Regions from separate parts of the Homo sapiens genome. Here regions 1, 3 and 4 are each linked to region 2. The links are contacts of gene promoters, found by promoter capture Hi-C in blood cells and fetal thymus (Javierre and others, 2016). All regions are on one chromosome and are shown on one strand. The core of a region is centred on a gene start or on the middle of the fragment in contact, and the rest is flanking DNA. Distances in the headings are between cores, read along the strand shown.

Region 1 (2,982 bases), core at 113-2,612, 1.0 Mb before region 2:
GAGGTTGGAGGGCCCTCTATTGATCCCATACTCATTCAGCAAGAAGAATTAAGGCCAATCTCAGGCCTAGTCTAGGATGTCTGAGGAAAGTATTGATGAGTCAGTCTTTTCATCACCTCATCTGTCGGGATGAATAGCCTGTAAAGATTGTTATTTATGGACAAATTGTATATATGTATATATTTCTAATGGACTTTATTTTTAGAGCAGTTTTAGATTCACAGCAAAATTGAGAGGAAGGTACAGAGATTTCTCATACACCCCCTCCCCTCAAACAAGCACAACCTCCCCCGTTATCAATACCCCCACCAAGGTGGTAAATTTGTTATAGCTGATGAACCTACACTGACACATCATTATCATCCAAAAATCACGCTTTAAGGATTTTTATCTTTATCCTCCGAGTAAAGATATTGAAAAGTGTTCATCAAGAGGGTGCTATCATTAGGTCCGCATTTTAAAGAGTTCAATGATTGCAGAATGAAGAACAGATTAAAGACTAGTGAAATGAGAATAAAAGTAGGGAGACCAATGAGGAATTTGGGGAAGATGATGGTGTCTTGGATCAGGTGGTAGAACAGAGACAGAGAAAACTGGATGTATTCAAGGGCTATTTATGGATTCGACTGTAGCATTTCACAACATACTACTGATCATATAACAAGGGGCTTGCAGTTTTAGTTATAACAATTAAAAAATAAAGTATAATATAATAACATACATGTTTTTTAAGCCATCAAAATGTTGTGGATAGGAAGAAGTCCAAAGGAACCCTATTCCAGGGAGACAAGTGCTTCCTAGAGAATGAAAATCAGTAGGCATTACCTTCGCTAGGGGCAACTACTGAGTCAGGCGTGGGCTGGTGAGGATTGGGCCTGATTCAAGCAGGGAGACTCTTCCTGCATAAGGTGCAGTCAGTGGAGTTTTAAATGTCTGTGTGTGGGTTAGTGAGACCAACTGGAATCTGGAGGAGTTTCAAGGCCAAGTTCTCCCGCCCACCGATTCTCCCTCGGGAGACTTGTGTGAGAGGATGTGGTAGCCCAGTAATCTGAAGGCTGGATAGTAAGTCCCTCCCAGATAGAGGGAGTTCTTGGCAACTCATTGTGCTGAGATCCCAAAGGCTTGCCAAAGGGAGGGACTTGTAATACATACAGGACTGATCTTGCACTGAAGACATTTGAAACCAGAGATAAATTGAAACTATTAGAAGTTGAAGAAAATATGAACAAACTGGATGAAAAGATGGAGAATTTTAACAGAGCTATTATAATTTCCTGACAATTACTAAAATAATATTCTAGAACTGAAAAATAAAATATAGATATTTTATTAAATATCTAAGTTAGTAAATTCATTGACCAACCTCTTCCAAGTCCTCCCTTTCCCCTTTCCTCCCAGCCTCTGGTGGCCACTATTCTACTTTCTACTTCTGTGAAATCAAGTTTAGATTCCACATATGAGTCAGTTCATGCAGTTTCTCTTTCTCTCCCTGGCTTGTCTGAATTTATGCCCTCTCGGTTTATCTATGTTGCCACAAATGACAGGATTTCATTCTGTTTTATAGCTGAATAGTATTCCACTGTATGTATATATGCCACATTTTTTTTATCCACTAATGTGCAGATGAGCATTTAAGTTGATTTCCTAATCTTGGCTATTGTGAGTAATGCTGCAATAAACAGGCAGTGCAAATGTCTCTTCAACATACTGATTTCATTTCCTTTGGATATGTATCCAGTAATGGGATTGCTGGAGATGGTACTTCTATTTTTAATTTTTTGTGAAATCTTTATACTGTTTTCCATAATAACTGTACCAATTTATATTCTCACCAATGATGTATAAAAATCCCCTTTTCTCTGCATCTTCACCAGCATTAGTGACTGTACCAAATAACAATACAGTGCATATTACAAGATCGCTAGAAGATTTTTGAACATTGCCACCACAAAGAAATGATAAATATTTGAGGTGGTTAATATGATAATTACCCCAATTTAATCTTTATACTATGCATATATGCATTAAAATATCAGGTTGTACTACATAAACATACAGTTATTATGTGTCAATTATAAATTTAAAAATTAAAACATTCATTGGATGGATTTAACAGTAGACACAATATAGAAAATAGTTTGAACTAAATAGTAATAGAAATATGATATATCATTATGTGTGGGATGCAACTAAGAAGATATTTAGGAGGTAGAAATAGACTTGGTGATAGTTGAGAGGTGGATAATAAAGTCAACTCCTGGGTTTCTATTTGTAGTACTGGATGGATGATTGTGTGATTGTTATTCACCACGATAAGAAATTGTGTGTGTGTGTGTGTGTGTGTAAGAGAGAAAGAGAGAGGTGTGCACATGCAAATGCAAGGAGGTAATTGAGGATGAAGTGAGGGTAGTTGAGTTTGAAGTGACTTGGTGGTTTCTAAATAGATGTTCCCACTCCCCAGATTGCACTTTTCCTACTTCTGCACTAGACATCAAGACTTGAATTCTTTCTCTTATGGGGAACCTCTTCTGACCACTAACCTTACCCCAGGATGGGTTAAGTGTTCCTATTCGGTGTACTCAAAACATCCTACACATAAGTCTCATAGTAATTTTATATTTTTTATTAAGTTATGTTGTTATAAAACTATTTGTTTATTTATCTCTTACCTTAGAGGTCCTTGGAAAGCAGAAATGCTGTTTCTAGCACAGAGTAAGTGCTCAGTTATAGTTTGTTGAGTAGCACTGGACTGTGAAAATCAAATTGAGGTATTTCCAGACATACTTAGGGCACTCAAAATTTTCACATCTCCTGCTTCTAAGTAAATACTAAACTTGAGAGTTATAGAGTAGAGTTGTTTAGGTGAAAAAAAATACTGAGACAGTATCACAAGATCACAAAATTTTTGCTCCCAAAGAAGCTTACAGTTAGAGTTTCCCAATTATAGTAAAAAGAGAGACAGAGAGAGATATTAATAAGGGA
Region 2 (2,500 bases), core at 1-2,500:
TTCTTTCTTTTATAGAAGTAGGCTTCAAAGAAACAACGAAAGGTGCTAAAACTGGTCTCTGGATGAATCTCTGCTAGGACTTAGAGAAACATGGAGACCTAGTTGTTATCATACAACTTGTCTTGCTGCCACTTGTCCTGTCCCTTCAAGGAGTTATGGTTATCAGGAAAAAAGCCAATTAACAAACTCTGCTTAATTTTTGTGGTGATAATTAATCAACTCTAAGATTTCAGCATAAAATCCCAACACCTTGCCCTGTGTGACAAGACCCTAAGTGCCTTGCTCCTGCCTGGCTCTCCAGCTGCATCTTGTCACTCTACACTCCTTACTCGACTCCAGCCACACTGGCCAAGGCCTGCTGTCTCCAGATCTTGCATAACCGCCTTCACACATCTGCTCGGAGTTCACTTCCAGTCTTCCTATTCCTAGCCCCATGAGCTACTGAACACTTGAAATGTGTCTAGTCTGAACGGAAATGTGCTGGAAGTATAAAATATACACCGGATTTTTATGACTTAGTAGATATAAAAGAAATATCTTATTAATAATCTCATATTGATTGCCTGTTGAAATATTTAAAATATGTTGGGTTATTATTAAAATTAATTTGATCTGTTTCTTTTTACTTTTTTTTTTTTTTTTTTGAGACGGAGTTTCGCCCTTTTGTCCAGGCTGGAGTCAAGTGGCATGATCTCGGCTCACCGCAACCTCCACCCCCACCCCGCCCGGGTTCAAGCCATTTCTCCTGCCTCAGCCTCCCAAGTAGCTGGGATTATAGACGCCCGCCACCAAGCCCAAGTAATTTTTGTATTTTTAGTAGAGACGGGGTTTTGCCATGTTGGCCAGGCTGGTCTTGAACTCCTGACTTCAGGTGATCACCTGCCTCAGCCTGCCAAAGTGCTGGGATTACAGGCATGAGCCACCGCGCCCGGCGTTCTTTTCACATTTTATGTGGCAATTGGAAAATTTAAAATTACACTCATGGCTCACACTGTTTCCATCGGACAGCGCTACCCTATGGCATGACCCTCTTTTGCTGCCCTCCTGGCACTTACATTGTAGAATTTCAGCATCCGGGCTCACTTGGTCAGTGGCCTACTCACCCAAGCAGAATGTACCACAGAAACCTTGCCTGGCTCACCCACACCTGATTCCCAGGCACTCAGGCCAGGGCCTGGAGCATAGTAAGTGCTGACTAAATATCTTTCGAATGAATGACTCTACTCTTCCTCAGCTGGACTCATGAATTCTGTCGGGTCCCAAAATACGTGGTCTAAAGTCCTTTGGGCTCCTGCCGCTGCCAGCACTGATCATATGCTCTTGACCCTGGTCGGGTGGGGGGATGTCTGGATACCTCCTCTGTGGAAAGAACTGGCCACACATCCGCAGAGGTGACTCGGGCTGAGAACCCAGGCTCCTCCTCCCTTTGGTGACACGCCCCTCGGTCCCTCACTGGCACTTCTCCCTCCGGCCACACGGCGGCGTCTCGCCATAGCGCAGCGGCCGATGGTACAGCCCGCTCCCCCCTCGCGCTCTCGGACAGTGGGTCCTTCCACTTGTAGAAAAGCATTGTGGGACGGAAGCCTGTCCTTTCTTCCTTTTGGTGCGAGCTTGCTGTGGTTTTTGCTCTGGGTCCTCTGGGATGGCGCCTGGCTGTGGCCGCGTGGTCTCTCACGCAGGGGCGCCGGGCGGGGGAACGCGGCCACCCTGAGTCTGGTGAGTCGACTGCGGCGGCCTGTGTCCGAAGTGTCCGGGGCCGTGAACAAGGGCAGCGGCCTGGCCTCAGGCCTGCGTTCCCACGTTTGGAAACGGGGAGCTTCGTCGATTTGTGTTTACATCATCGACTATGCCAGGGAGTTCTCCAGATAAGCCTGGTTTTATTTTCGTCAGTGAAAAGGCCTTACCGTATAACTGACTTTATGCTTGCCCTGCCCCCGTATAAAATAACTTAAAAGCAGCGTGCCTGGTTACAGCTGTTTCCACGTGCGGTGCTCGTCGGGAGTGATCACCTACCCTACAGGTGAGTTTTCACGTTCGTGCAAGACCAGTCGCCATTTAAAACGCATCGCATTTCACTTTTCATTATTAAGTCGGATTTTAAATCGTGAGAAAATTTCTCTGAAATGTATTGTCCGTTTTTAGGCTGTAATCGGCATTACTGTCAGCCAGTCAGCAACCTTATGCCATAAAGCCTACCTCACGCAGTGTCAGCCTTTGTGTTGCCCATTCACTTTGGAAACTAGTGAATGTGGTGTCAAAAAAGGCGTAAATTAAACGCTTTGCAGCCTTTTCCTGCCCTTAAATTTGATACCTTTGGTGTAGGAGCTGCATAAGTAACAGTTGCTGCTTTTACGTTTCCACGCGTGATCTTGACCCTGCTAGCCTTAAGTGTATGGTTTCTCTTAGCCAGTTCTAATTTTTGTTCAGGTGGAAGATGGATGCCTGAAGTGTAGACTGCTGCTAGCTGAATACCATCTGGGAGCATAAAGGTGACCTGAAG
Region 3 (3,037 bases), core at 439-2,938, 1.0 Mb before region 2:
CAGTGCAACCACCGTCTCCCAGGTTCAAGCAATTCTCCTGCCTCAGCTTCCCGAGCAGCTGGGACCACAGGCGTGTGCCACCATGCCTGGCTAATTTTTTTTTTTTGTATTTTTAATGGAGCTGGGGTTTCACCATGTGGCCAGGCTGATCTCAAACTCCTGACCTCAAGTGATCCACCCACCTCAGCCTCCCAAAGTGCTGGGATTACAGCCATGAGCCACGGTGCCCAGCCAGATTGAGTTCTTTGAGGGGTGAGAAATATATAAAATTAAATAATCTTAATAGAATTTTTCATTTGTTCTGTCTCACCCCACCCCTACTTCCTGAGGAGAATTACATGAGAATAATTGGAATAGAACATTGTTTTCAATTTCTCACTGAGGCAGAAACATCCCCTTCTTCCTTAAAGATTTCTGTGGAAGGTGATTTTAGCACTTTGGAAATAGAACATATGGAAGCAGTCTCCATTTGCTCAGAATAATAATCAGAAACAACCTTCTGAATTGTTATGCAGGGCTCTGATCTTGTAAATCTGATCTCTTAGAATAGGAATTGTTTTAATATTATTTCAGAAAAAATTGTAAGGTACCTTGGGACTTACTTTTTTAAGATTACCATGAAACTGTATGGTAGTTTTAGGTCTGGGATGAGCCTGTGCATTTATGTTTCATGAACTAATGTGGCAGTGTAGAATATGCTGTGTATGTGGAAACCACCTTCCTCAATTTGGTGGTTTTATATAATGGAAGTCCCATCTACCCACACACCACAGCTGTGGAAATGAAGTTACACAATGAAGTTGACAAGATAATTATAGTTTGAAGTAAAATAAGTTTGCTCAAGCAGTAAGCTTTTTAACAGATAGTACCTAAACATGTTAGGAAGTTTTACCCTTCACGTATGTAAACTTTTGATGAGTAATATTAAGACAAAGGAAATACCTTAAGATTTGAAATTGCCGTGTTTTAGGTTTAATCTTTATATGTGTTAGGATAATATCTTCATCTCTGGATTGTTTGGATTAAATGACTTAACATAAATAATTTAATAGTGTATGGCATAGAATAAGTATTTAGCAAATGTTTTCTTTTCCCCAATTCTCTTGATTCCCAATAAAAGCCATTCTTGTGGGCTTTCAAAACAGACTTGAACAGAAATCAGACAGGTTATTGCTCCCTTCCCCATAATGGACAATTAAACAGCAGTCCTTTTCCTGAACACACTTTGATGTGTGTGTGTTTGTTTCCAGTGCTTCTAATTGTTGTCTTTTCTTTCCATCTTGCATTCATTGTTTAAGGTTTACATTTTTATTGGCTCTTTTAGCAAATTGAGAGAGGCGTTTTACCATGGGCAAGCAACTTAATGCCTCCCACTGGACAGTCTTCATTTACATTTGAGCTGCTCACAGTGTGTGTCCCATGAATCACTGATGTAGGCATACCCTCAGTGTGTGTAAGCTGTTGCCCTGTTTTTGTGTTTTAGTTTCAGTAGTGGCTTTACTAGAATTTATATTGGCTAACAATATAAATTGGGTAGAACTGCTTGGGTAAAAATCCTGACCCAGTTGCTTTCTACCTTGAGCGAGTTTTCAAATCTTACTGGGCCTCAGTTTTCTGGACTGATCCGCCTTAATAGGGTTTGTGAAGATTCGATTAGTTAGCACGCTCAAGTGCTGAGGATACTTCCTCACACAGAACACTAAAAAAGTGTTAATCTTGTTCTTGAAATAATTTGTATTAATGTACATCCGGAACTTGAGTCATTTGTGTGTACCTTCCTATGGATAATATATTGGCTTCAGAAAAGCTGTAATTAAAAACCAGTATACTCTGCTTAAAGCTATTCTCGCTTTTAGCCAGCCTAAGGGGTCTTTCAGCAGGATTCAGATGAGTGTAGGCCTTTCTCTTTGCTTCTTAAATCTACCTCTTTTCACTTCCTGCTACCACCATCCTAGTTATCTTTGTTGATTGTTAGATGATTACTACCATACTGTCACCATTCTCTCTGTTCAAATATATTCTGCATTCTGATGGCAAGTTTTTATGGAAGTGAAGATTATGCCACTATCTCCTCTTAAGTGGTTAATGACTTTCCATCGATTATAAGATTAACACAAACTCAGGTGTTTGATATGTAAGACATTGTATGCAGCCTTATGCTTATGCTTAATGGTCCTACAAAACTGCACTCCTCACTCTACACAATTGTATTTTCCCTTGCCTTATCCACCACATTTCTCTTAGCCAGGAAATGCTTTCTCTACTAGACACCAATATCCATTGAAATCCTGTCCATTTGTAAAGCTCCTCTCAAACATAAGTGTTCTCTGTGAAGCCCATTCTGAGTCTTCTACCTGGTTTGTGGTTACTCTCCCTTTCACCCCAACTTGTAAATCCCTTCAGCAGTTTAAAGCTATGGGACTAGTTTCCATAAATTGCTTTATGGTTCTTCTCTAGAGACTGAATTTTCATGGTGTTTCATGTATAGCATGATTACTTATTTGAAAAATAGGTACAGTTGCTCAAAAGCTTTTTTTAAATTACTATTCTTATTTACATCCATTTTGTTATATTACTTTCTCCTTTTGCCTAAGCTTTTCATTAGTTTCACTGAAGTAACAGAAATACAGAATACTGATAATTAGATTTATTTTAAATGTTATATCTTTAGAATTGTCTCCAAGTCAGTCTACCAAAATTTAGTATTCGAGAAAAACAGAAAATTTCCTCCTGTTTCCTCCCTGTTGTTGAAACTGCTTCTCCAGTTAGTCAGTCTAGTTAATGTTGTCTTTCTCATTAAGTGAGATTATTTTCACATAGTAACTTAGTTAACAAAGCTGTTTATTAGTGGTGACTTTCTGATCAATGCTGGTGATTAAAAAAAAGAAAACATTTTCTGCATCTCTTATCCCTTATCTTTTTGGCAAAAATATTTTTGTGAATTATCTCCTTTTTGGTAGAGTTCAAATACTTTTAACATGTTAATTATTTCTGTAGCCTTATAGACTGCTTTTTGTTGGACTCGGCTCCTCTCAAT
Region 4 (3,163 bases), core at 207-2,706, 1.4 Mb before region 2:
GGTAAGGTAAATAAGAGACTCTTACTACAGTCTTATCCCCTCCTAGAAATTTTTCTAATAGACAACTTGGATATTTTTCTCAAGATTAACGGCTTTTAAAAATTGTTTTATTACACATCTCCAATATACCCCCCTCTCTCTTTCACACACACACACACACACACACACACACACAGAGCGCCAAATTTTTGAACCTTCTCTTTTGAAGTCCAAGAGTCTTCATACTAAATAAATAATAAATAAATAAAAATCAAAAAGGTGCAATTTCACCAACCACAGAGGATGTGTGAAGACTGGTCTTCTGAATTCAAGGTTGCCCCAGGATAAGCGAGTCCAGGGGAGATTAAATGAATTTCCCTATTCATAGCAATAAGAAAGTTCCCACCTCCTTTATTCTCCCCAACAAAAAAGCTTCCCCTATCAAACGACCTGGTGGCTTTTCCAGGATGGACTGCTTAGACTCTTAGGAGGGGCCCAGATAGCAGGCCCAGCCTGGGGTTGCGAGTAGTGTTTCTTCTAACAAAGCTATGGCACCCTGAGAAAGGAGGCTCAGTATTCCCCTGTGAGGATCTTTGTGGGTCTTTCAGTTGCCCTAGGATGGTGAATATGACAATAACCTGAGCTCCCAAATCATCTGAAGCAGGACCTCTTAATCACTCACCGCTGCGCTCTGAGCCGCTGGGAACCAAGGCTGGTTGCTAAGGACGCTGTGGGAGTCGCTCTGAGACAGACGTTGCTCTTTTACGGTCTCGTGACCAGGGCTTAGCCAATCAGGACTTATAAGTGAATTTCCACCTGCCCTGTCCCGTCTCCACCACATTTGTGTTCAATTTCTAAAGAATAAATGCAATGTTGTGTGAAAGACCTTTATTCGTTTTTAAAGAACATAGTAATGATTTGTTTCGAATATTGTACATACTTGCATATCCTGCAAGAAGCCACGGCAAGAAGCGGCTTCACAGTGCTTTAATGTCTCCTCAGTGTCTTAATGCTGCTTCCCCAAAACAAACCAGCACGCCTATCATACCAAAAGTAGCTATGTCTTTAAATTAAATTGCCGTTCGTAAGTTCCTTTTACATAGAAAATTTGGAGCAGTCAGTGTCCTCAGCACCCGTCAGTGAGTAAACAAAGCACCTAGAATGTTCTGCTATGTACTAAACACCAGAGGGCGAATTTAAACACAAAAGAACGCCTCTTTTTAAAGGTAGTATGCAATAGAATTATCTAATATAAGTCCTTTAAAAATCCTTGTAGAATTCCTATGTCTACTAACGAGCAACTGTATATATTTTACAAAGGTTCACCAGTGTAAAATACTATATGGAAGAATGGGGAAGGGCATTTATGATTAAATTCATACGTAGGCCGGGCGCAGTGGCTCATGCCTGTTATCCCAGCACTTTGGGAGGCCAAGGTGGGCGGATCACGAGGTCAGGAGTTCGAGACCATCCTGGCTAACATGGTGAAACCCGTCTCTACTAAAAATACAAAAGTTAGCCAGGCGTGGTGGCACCCACCTATAATCCCAGCTACTCAGGAGGCTGAGGCAGGAGAATTGCTTGAACCCAGGAGATGGAGGTTGCAGTGAGCCGAGATCATGCCACTGCACCCCAGCCTGGGAAACAGAGCGAGATTCCATCTAAAGAAAAAAAAAATACTAAAACGTAATATACAGGGATTGTCCTGTGAAATGACCTGCCTTTAAAAATTAGAACTTTGAAAGAAAATTTAACTTGAACTACTTCGATTCGGAATTAAGTTTTTTTGTTTTTTGAGTGCATTTTTATGTTTAAAACAGAAATTACAATATGTGATCTCAGGCTTCTCTGACGTATCACTCCTAGAAGATCAGTAAGTTAAAGGTAATAATGAAAAGTGAAATTGACAAAGACTATAAACTACATATGTGAGAGAACAAATCCTAGAATATCAACAGTGCTTACCATAATCCAGATAAAATAAAAATGAAAAGACTGTGGTATTTAATAATAGCCTGGGGGCTTGCTTGTTTTAATTTCAAGAGATCTAGAAAAGTGTTAAAAGCATAAAAAAATACAAACTGTTAACCAGGTTATTCATAATCAAATGAAGATTGAATTAAAAAGGAATAAAAGGAAGGCCGAATAAAAAATTCTTCTCCATAATATAAGAATCAGTTGAAACTATAGCATGTTTAGAGAAAAAAAGTCACCCCATCGATTCTACAGTGAAGACAACAGAACAAGTTTATATAAGGAAGAATTCACAAATACATATATATATATATTACACATATCTACTTATTCTAAATATATCTACTGATTTTATATATGTATCTACTGATTTTATTTATATATATATCAGTAGAATGAAAGATTACAGAAAAAGCATAAAATTTATATATGATAAATTTGCCATTTTAACTCAGTGGGGAAAAACTGTACAGAGGCTGAGCACAATTTGAAAGAAAATAAATCTGAACTACTATCTCATACCATAGCAACAATAAATCTCAGAGGAATGAAGCTTAAAACAGGAAATAATTTTAAATAATTTTAAGATAATATTGGTATAACCTTAGAGTCACAATAATATTAAGCTAATAGGAGACCCACAATGATTTTAAAAAATGACAAGAATATTTAGAAAATTTATGTAAGAAAAATAAATCTAATAAAGTCATACCTCCCCTTTCTCCCTTTAATTAGTCATCTACATTGAAGTTTTGACAAGACAAATCTAATTTTTTCAAATTATTATATATATACCTATATATATATAATCCTAAAATGGCCATTAATTAGCAATTAGGAAAATAAGCATGTCAAAACCATCCTAACCCCTTAGTATGGCACAATTATGCTTTCAGAAACTATATCATTGCCTACTTGCCCAGTTTTTTTCTGCTTTTTTTTTTTTTACCAGTCTTTTTTATTTTATTTTATTATTATTTTTTGAGATGAAGTCTCGCTTTTGTCCCCCAGGCTGGAGTGCAATGGAGCGATCTCAGCTCATTGCAACCTCCACCTCCTGGGTTCAAGCGATTCTCCTGCCTCAGCCTCCCGAGTACCTGGGATTACAGGCGCCTGCCACCACGCCTGGGTAATTTTTGTATTTTTGGTAGAGACAGGGTTTCACCATGTTGGCCAGGCTGATCTCGAACTCCTGACCTCAGGTAATCCA

Evidence for each region. The method cuts DNA at HindIII sites, captures the fragments that hold promoters and counts their contacts. A CHiCAGO score of 5 or more calls a contact.
Region 1: a fragment that was not itself captured here is called in contact with the fragment with the promoter of EPB41L4A-AS1 in region 2 in 8 of 17 cell types (M0 macrophages, M2 macrophages, M1 macrophages and 5 more); the score reaches 9.5 in M0 macrophages.
Region 3: a fragment that was not itself captured here is called in contact with the fragment with the promoter of EPB41L4A-AS1 in region 2 in 1 of 17 cell types (M0 macrophages); the score reaches 7.7 in M0 macrophages.
Region 4: a fragment that was not itself captured here is called in contact with the fragment with the promoter of EPB41L4A-AS1 in region 2 in 3 of 17 cell types (naive CD4 T cells, fetal thymus and total CD4 T cells); the score reaches 8.4 in naive CD4 T cells.

Annotation. Positions count from the first base shown.
Region 1 is chr5:111,143,083-111,146,064 of GRCh38, forward strand. No RefSeq gene overlaps it. Among named protein-coding and RNA genes, the nearest start is that of WDR36, 52 kb to the left of the region's middle. The HindIII fragment of the contact is 3,112 bases long and covers 1-2,918 here.
Region 2 is chr5:112,159,276-112,161,775 of GRCh38, forward strand. It overlaps EPB41L4A-AS1 (EPB41L4A antisense RNA 1), which reads left to right and starts at 1,251. Exons shown (of 3, transcript NR_015370.2): 1 at 1,251-2,020; 2 at 2,428-2,500. It overlaps SNORA13 (small nucleolar RNA, H/ACA box 13), which reads left to right and starts at 2,210; the gene lies at 2,210-2,342. It also overlaps a transcript of EPB41L4A not described here. RefSeq lists enhancers at 1,118-2,317, 1,136-1,345, 1,218-1,950, 1,726-1,825, 1,846-1,895 and 1 more. The HindIII fragment of the contact is 7,805 bases long and covers 1-2,500 here.
Region 3 is chr5:111,116,016-111,119,052 of GRCh38, forward strand. It overlaps WDR36 (WD repeat domain 36), which reads left to right. Exons shown (of 23, transcript NM_139281.3): 17 at 2,998-3,037. Among named protein-coding and RNA genes, the nearest start is that of WDR36, 25 kb to the left of the region's middle. The HindIII fragment of the contact is 1,678 bases long and covers 850-2,527 here.
Region 4 is chr5:110,725,966-110,729,128 of GRCh38, forward strand. TMEM232 (transmembrane protein 232) reads right to left here and starts at 706. Exons shown (of 14, transcript NM_001039763.4): 1 at 662-706. The HindIII fragment of the contact is 2,095 bases long and covers 410-2,504 here.